Regions from separate parts of the Homo sapiens genome. Here all the other regions are linked to region 3. The links are contacts of gene promoters, found by promoter capture Hi-C in human tissues and cell types (Jung and others, 2019). All regions are on one chromosome and are shown on one strand. The core of a region is centred on a gene start or on the middle of the fragment in contact, and the rest is flanking DNA. Distances in the headings are between cores, read along the strand shown. Region 1 overlaps CDK6-AS1 (CDK6 antisense RNA 1). Region 2 overlaps CALCR (calcitonin receptor). Region 3 holds the start of HEPACAM2 (HEPACAM family member 2).

The links. The method cuts DNA at HindIII sites, captures the fragments that hold promoters and counts their contacts. A contact is called where the count stands out against the background at its distance.
Region 1: a fragment that was not itself captured here is called in contact with the fragment with the promoter of HEPACAM2 in region 3 in 1 of the 25 tissues and cell types used here (aorta).
Region 2: a fragment that was not itself captured here is called in contact with the fragment with the promoter of HEPACAM2 in region 3 in 1 of the 25 tissues and cell types used here (lymphoblastoid cells).

The regions. Positions count from the first base shown.
Region 1 is chr7:92,899,326-92,902,025 of GRCh38, forward strand. All of the region lies in intron 1 of CDK6-AS1 (CDK6 antisense RNA 1), which reads left to right. Among named protein-coding and RNA genes, the nearest start is that of CDK6, 64 kb to the left of the region's middle. The HindIII fragment of the contact is 6,286 bases long and covers 1-2,700 here.
Region 2 is chr7:93,551,437-93,554,136 of GRCh38, forward strand. The region is part of intron 2 of CALCR (calcitonin receptor); the gene reads right to left. All of the region lies in intron 2 of LOC105375400 (a long non-coding RNA gene), which reads left to right. Among named protein-coding and RNA genes, the nearest start is that of CALCR, 22 kb to the right of the region's middle. The HindIII fragment of the contact is 5,748 bases long and covers 1-2,700 here.
Region 3 is chr7:93,225,189-93,227,888 of GRCh38, forward strand. HEPACAM2 (HEPACAM family member 2) reads right to left here and starts at 1,281. Exons shown (of 10, transcript NM_001039372.4): 1 at 1,180-1,281. The coding sequence starts at 1,258. The HindIII fragment of the contact is 8,113 bases long and covers 1-2,700 here.

The DNA of each region.
Region 1 (2,700 bases), core at 142-2,641, 330 kb before region 3:
GTGTTTCTTTGTTGCTTGTACTTTTAGTGTCATATCTATGAAACTTTTCTCTTACTCAAGGTTATAAAGGTTTAAGCTGATATTTTCTTTTAAGAGTTTTATAGTTTTCATTTTGTAAACTAGTTTTATGAAACTATAGTAGTTCTTACAGTGAGGTCTTTGATCTATTTTGTGTGAATTTTTCTACATAGTGTGAGGCAAGGGTTCAGCACCATTTGCTACAAAGTCTATTCTTTGTCCATTGAATGGTTTGAATAGTTGAGTTGAATCTGTAGATCAGTTTGGGAAATATTGCCCATGAACATGGGTGTATTCATGGTATCTGATCTATGAAAATGGTATGTCTTTCCATTTATTTAGGTTGTCTTTAATTTCTTTCAATAATATTTTATACTTTCCAGAACACAAGTTTTTCACTTCCTTTGTTAAATATATTTGTAAATATTTTATTATTTTTGATGCTATAAGAAATGAAATTATTTTCTTTATTTCATTTTGGATTGTTCAGTGCAAGTGTGTAGAAATACAATTGATTTTTGTATAATGATCTTGTATCCTGCAGCATTGCAAAACTTATTAGTTTGAATAGTTTTTGCTAGATTATCTAGGATTTTCTGAATCATGATGACTTAATCATGTCATGTATACATATATTTTACTTCTTTCTTTCAAATTTTATTGCTTTCATTTCATTTTCTCCCCTAATTGGCTCACCTTGTATAATGTTAAATGGAAGTAGTGAGAATAATCACTCTTGTCTTGTTCCTGATCTTAGGGGAAAAACATTCAGTTCTTCACCCTTATGTATTACACAAGTTGTATATACCTTACCTGAACTAGTTGGGATCAGAAGTGTTCTGGATTTGGTGGTTGTTTTTTTGGATTTTGGTATATTTGCATTGTACTTACCAGTTGAATATCCCAAATAAAAAAACCAAAAATTTGAAATGATCCAGTGAACATTTCCTTTGAGCGTGATGTCAGCACTCAAAAAGCTTTGGATTTTAGGGCATTTTGGATTTTGGACTTTCAGATTTGGGATGCTCAACATGTATTAACTGTGGGTTTTTCATATATGCACTTTATCAAGCTGAGAAAGTTCCCTTCCATTCCTAGTTTTTTATAAACAATATTTTAGTCTTGCATTGTGTGAAATGTTTCCCTTTTCTATTGAGATGATCATGTGAGATGATCATGTTTTGTTCTTTATTGTATTGATATGATGTATTACATTGATTAATTTTTGGTCTGTAAACATTTGTGGGCTGTTATCCATTACAGTGTCTGCTCAACAGTTATACCTTGACAAGTGTGAGATAAATGCTGAGTCCTGGCCATGTTGCTGTCCCTCATTTTTAAAAAAAAACATTTGATATTAAGTATGGTATTTCTAATGGAAGCTTCTATTAAATGTCACACTGTAAAATTCAAAATTTGCCATTTCTCAGTTTCCTAAACTTAATAGAGCTCTTACTAAATTGTCTTTATGAGAAATGTGTCTCTTCCTATTTATCTGAAAGTAGATGAAGAGAATTTTGTATTGCTCCAGCCCTTCAGCCAAAATTAAATCAGAATAGGATGAAATTCTTAAACAACATGAGTGTGTATCTATAATACACCTTTCAAAAGGAACAAGTTCTTACCAAATTATGCTGTTGTTTTTACTGGAGTCTTAGCTTTTATGATTTTAAAAACATCTCTAAGGCTCAAATTCTATCGTTCTTGATTTGAAATCAACCTCTTCTTTTCCTATATCGTTGGAAGGGTTACACAGCTATGGCCCAAAAGCCAAATTTGGCCTGTAGATATGTTTTATTTGTCCGTAGACTTTTGAAAGTTAGGTCAAGCATGTGCTCCTAGCTAGACACCACATTCAATCTTCCTATTGTCTTTTATTATGCATTTAAGCATGGCTTTGGAGTTTGTAATTCTTGAAGTAAACATCTGGTTTTTGGCATTTTTATTTATCTCAATGGAACCATTATCTCTTGGCTTACCCAAATTTGAAATATTGGAATCATGGAATCATTATTAATAATTTTTATGAAGTTTTTTTAATATAAAAATCACTTAAATACAAATAGATTCTCATTATCTAAGATTTAGACAATCAAAAGTACAAAATGCTGAAAGTCCCTTTTCACTTCTGTCTACCACTTTTTTCTCATTTACATGTAATCATTGTCATTAAGTTGGGATGTGTTCTTCCAGCTCACTTTGTAGACTTTTACACACACACACACACACACACACACACACACACACGGGCTATTTTTTTGTATAAAAAATAGGCTTGACAAATATAGTCCAACTTATTAACAATGGTTACTTCTAGATGGGGAAGAAATAGTAGAGAGGAGTGAAGGGGCTTTTCAATCTTTAGCCATTACTACCAATTCTGTATAATCATGACTTACAAACATATTTATATGAAGACTAAGTCAGCAAGACACAAAACCCAGCAGCTATAAATGAGAATATTGATAGATTGACTATGTAAAAATATTATACTGTATCAGTCAGGGTTCAACCAGAGAAGCAGAACCAGCAGGGAGAATAATTATAAATACAAATTCAAATTTAAATACACACACACACACACACACACATACACATATATATAGACAGATATAGATGCAGATAGATAGATACATGTATAGAAAGATAGAGATGTGTGTGTACACATACAGATAGACACAC
Region 2 (2,700 bases), core at 96-2,595, 330 kb after region 3:
CACATGCTCATAATCAATTCTTAAATGTTCAAACAACCATAACAACAACTTCTTTACAGGTTTTTTTAGTGCCAGTTATTTTGGGATCCATTTCCACAAATACGATAGTAACTTTATTTGTAGGCACCAGGTCAAAAGTGACAGGAAAAGTAAAGAGGAATTTGGTAAAATCTTGTAGGAGCTTCTGGTCTACCATCCCCTGACCCTTTGGGAAACAAATTTAAGAACCACCCTTTGTGGGGAGCATCTCCTGGATGGAGAGGATGGAAGGTGCCAGTGACCTCTACTGTCAGCAAAGGTATCTGTAGTTTTGGACTGTAGGAGTCAAATTCTGCAGTATTTTGCTTTATTTTACAGATAACACAAATGTGAAATTATATCCTGCTGATACAGTGTGTTAAGCCCATTTAAGTAGAGATTTCATATTTTGGTAAATATGATTGAGATATATTTTCAATATAGATGACACAAATTAAGAAAAAGGTCTGTCAGCAGTCAGTGAAATGGATAATCATAATAAAAAGAACAGGACATTATATTGAAATATTTACCCTGAAATCAAAGAATGTCAATGTGGCAAAGAATGTGCAGAGCATGTCGACCTCGTGGCTACAAAGATACACACTAAAACTCAGGAGGTGAAGTGATAGGAATAGTTTAATGCAGAGAAAAGCTTGAGTCATCACATTCTAGCCTTGCCATTTATCAGCTGAGTGATCTTGGGCATTGTTCATTAGCCCTTCAGACTAAATTTTCTCATCTGTACAAGGTAAATGTATTACCTAACTTAGAAAGTGGCTATGAAAATTAAATAAGGTAAAATGCCCAGCTCAACTTCTCAAAACCAAACAGTTGCTCAGTAAATATTATGAGCTTACCAAAGTCACAAAACCTGTTGGCAGAGCTGGAGATGGAACTCGGGTGTCCTAATAGTTTATGTGATGCCCTTTCCAAGGCCACACTGTTTCAGGTCTTACATTAAGTCATTTAAAGCTAAGATTCAGCTTTATTGGTATGCAAATGAATGGGCCTACAAATATGATTTCAACTAAAACTAAGGTTAAATACTGATCTTTGTGAACCCATTGATAGGCTATATTTTATTCAGCACCGTCTTTACAAAAGCCACTTTCATGGCCTAGAGTATGGCTGAATCCGGTTTGATATAAAACCTTTATATTAAACCACATCTCTGTAATTACTCCTCTTTGGTCTTTTCCCATGTTCTCTAGAGGTTAGAACTAGAAGCCTAATTTCTTTGACAATTAGCATTATCTCCAAACATGAATATAGCACATTAATAGATTGTTATATTAAAGAGAATTTGTGAATCTCAAATAACAAGAAATTGACAGAGCTCATAGGAAGAAATGCTCAAGTAGAGTTCCCCTCTTCCCTGTGTAGCACTCCTCCCCGGTAAAAAGGGGATTTATTTTGTCCAGATAGACATGGTGGGCCATATTCAGTGTAGCACATATCACAACTTTTGGGAAAGACCCGAGAAATTCTTCCTCACTGAATGAGATAAACATAGCACTTGTTTCTATGGCAATGGTAAAACAACAACGTATCCATCTGTCTGGCTACATAATGGACACCTGACCTCACACCTTCTTCTTTCAAAATATATCACGTTATTTTAGAGGGAAAAAGTTTTCAAATAAAATGACTTTTATCCAATTATGGGTTATTTTAAAAATCTGCTATCTCTTTTCTCATCGAATTTCACCCATGGTGGAGATATTTCACTGACAAGATGTTGATTGTCATTCTGTGGAAGACAGTGTAGATTGGTTTGTGTTGCTCCACCAAAGGTGCAAATCAGAGGTAGGGAGATTTTGGTTCAATATGTCAAAGAGTTTCCAGAGCTGCTCAACAAGGGAAGAGCTGGGAGATCCTGAGGAGGTACTGGGTATTAAGGACAGGATCCTTTAACAGACAGAAGTTTGGTCCAGATAATGAGCAAGATCACTTGTTACATGAACGTTCTGTGGTGCTAGGTTTACAAAATGCATGCCATAGAAAGATGTTAATGAAAACTTACCCTTTTTTTTTTGCACAACAAATTTTGGAGGCAGATTAATACAAATGGTAAAGACACAGAGTGGGGTCAGACTTCCTGACAGATCTGTCAATAAGCTCTGCTCATTATTAGCTGTATCACTTGGGCAAGTTACTGACGGTTTCTGTGCCTCAATGTCCCCATTTGGAAAATGGGGCTAATAACAGCATATATTTATAGTGTTGTTATGATGATTCTATGAGTGAGTACATGCGAAGTGCTTTGAAAAGCACTTGGTTCAGATTAATCTTCTGTACTCTTCCACCAAATGTTAGTGTCTTCTTCTCCACAAAATTATATCATATTTGACTATACAAAAGGATGTCTGTGTGATCCAAAAGCAAGCAGGGATAGTAACTACATGGTACAAATCCATGCTATCCCACTGTATTGCCATGATAGATATTGCCTTCTAACACGTCACTAAATCCCACTGCACCTAGATGTGACCTCAGCATCCTTCTCAAAGCAGAGATCTAGAGCAGACAAATGAAAAGAAACCTATTTGTCATTTCTGCTTTTGTTAGTTTGTTTAAGAAATCTGGATTTAAACTTTAACTGTAAAACTTGTCAGGGTCAGAGATTAAACCTTCCATTGCTATATGTACTCCACTTTTTGCTTTAGTGTGACATTTTCA
Region 3 (2,700 bases), core at 31-2,530:
GTGGGATGATGACCCAGGATACTTTCAAAAGGAAGACAAATGCACAAAGGTAGTGACAGTTATAATAATTATTTACTTTTTCAAAAAATTTTAGAAAACAAAAATCTATTATAGGCTTAAATTTGATAACATAAATACTGTGATAACTGGAACAATCACAACTCTGGGAAACTCAAAGACTTAAAAAAATTTACAAACTGTACATTTCAAATGTGTGAGATAGGTACAACAGTAGGTATGAATTTGAATAATAACATTTACAATGCAAACTTTAACAAAATATAGGAGTGAAAGTAAAGCTCTAAATAGCTGAAGAAGCCTAAAAGTTAAATTGCTTATTTTGCTAAGCTGTTCTTAATTTTTAAAAAATGTAGCCTTAATTGAACTCCTATCTGTTGAATATAAACAAAACAAGAAATTGATTTGACTTTTAAAACTGATAAATAGGAAGAATGGAAATGAGAACATCTGGTGAAAATAATGTTGACAGACAGCAGTTGGAATGCTGGAAAGAGACTCCTTTAAACTCAAAAGATAAAGAGGAGAATGAGGGAAAATATTAAGGTAGAAAAAAATTCTTAATAGGACTAGCCATTGGGCAAAGAGAAAAGCTAAAGGCATTTTGGAGTAACAATCTTTTCAAATACGTTCTCCCTTTTGTGTAGGAAATTTTTTTGTTAGTTTGGAATCTTACCTTTCTTCCATATTTCATAAGATGAGACAGATAACTTAAAACGAAGCAGTAAACAGTTTGCAACAATATCTTTAATTAAAAAGAAAACAATTTTCGTAAATTATTTGTAGTTTCACTCTAAGTGGTCACAATTTCATGGCCTATTAGAATATTTGCTGAAATAAATGCATTAAAGACTATTGAACCTATATGTAAACTCTAAAAGAAGAAATTCATTATCTTTTAAAAATATCTGAATTATCTTAATGAGTGCTATGACAATAATTGTTGTTCCAAGAAAACAATAACAATCTATTTATTGAAACTCATTTCTCTTAAATGTTCCTGCTTCTTTGCTGTAACAGTGTGTTATTGTTAAAAGGTTCTGACCTGCTCTTCAATTATCTGAATGCATCTACAGCCTAAAGCAAATATTTACCTTATGTCCACAATTAAAAAAAAAAAACCTAACAAACAGCTAAAACACAATTCACACAGGGCCTTACCGAAGAGAAGGAGGTATATTTTGCACTGAAAGACCCCAAGTGTGTCACCGAAGGGCTCCATGAAAGCATCCTGTCCCATGCATGCAGTGCCCTGTTCTCAGTGGTAACTTGGACCAGCAGCTGCTGGTTTATTTGCTAGGGAAATTAGCAGTGAGGTAACAGACCCTATCTTGCCTCTTGCTTCTGTGATTTGAATACAGAATGAATGTGTATACAAAGGACACAGGGAGTGGGAACACCTGTTATGTGCTTAGCAAGAATACAGGCTTATGGCTTTCAGAAGAGTTTCTTAGCAACTACCAGTAATTGTCTATATATTTCATAAATTATACTTAGTTATTAAAAAATCACATGAAGGAAAACATCCTTTTGCGTGACTTTACTGAAAAATGGCATGTTTTCATAATGAAAGAATATTGTGAGATTTCCTTAAAAACAAAAGCTGGTTTTCTATCATGCAGAACTATGCCATTATTATTTTAAAATTAAAAAAAATTATATGAAAATTGAAGTAGCTCATGTATCTGCTAAACAGTTATAAATCTTCATGAAGTCACTAACATGTAAAAATTCTACCAATGAATCAAAAGAGAGATCCAGAATATATTTAAAACGTATTTTTTCTATGCAGTGTTTCCTATTACAATGACTGATTTCATTTAATCTTTGAATTCATCTTATTTTTAAAAGCAAATCACAGGTGTGTTTCCAACTGGGACTGAGGCATGGACCATGCATAATTATAATGAAAAGTGCATGCCAGGAGATAGTATCTGAGGCCACATTTTCACAGCTGATGCATAGAGGAAGTGAACCAATGATCTAGAAAAGATCTTACCTCTACTGCAGTGTCCAGGTTACAGGTTTTCAACCTGGTCTCTCCATTGTCATGGCAGCAGATAGTCTAAGCATGTCCGCTTAATTTACTAAGTTATTAGTTAACCCCTATTTGCAAGAAGGCTCTGGTTCTAGCCTTGTTATATAAAATGTTAAGGATATATCCAAATCTGCATCAAATCATCAAATCAAGGAAAATTCCTTGCATGCATCAGTTTTAACAGTAAAGGCCCACTGAAGAAGTTCAATGATAAGAGGGGAAGGAAGACTATACCTCAAGCATAATTAAAGTAAAAAAGGAATGATAGTAACTTTGGAATCCAAGTTTGGAAACACTCTTTGCATTAGGGCTCTGAACTCTTCTAGAAGGACTTCTATAAGCAAAGAAAGTAAGTGACTATTGGGAAAACGAAGTCCTCTTCAGAGATCAGTCACTTTCAGATCCCTCCATGCTTCAGAAAAATGGCAAGAGCTCCTCATGCTTCCCCCACCTCCCTGCAAAATAATAACAATGCCACAACTTTCTCTGCACTGTCTCTAAATCTGGTACACACATCTATTGCAGCACTTATCTCCTTAATCTTTATTTTATTGGATGTTTATTTTCCCTCTGAGCTCTCGAATACAGAGAATAATCTTATTCATTCATGGATGTTGGGCACGTAGCATAATGCTTAACTGGTA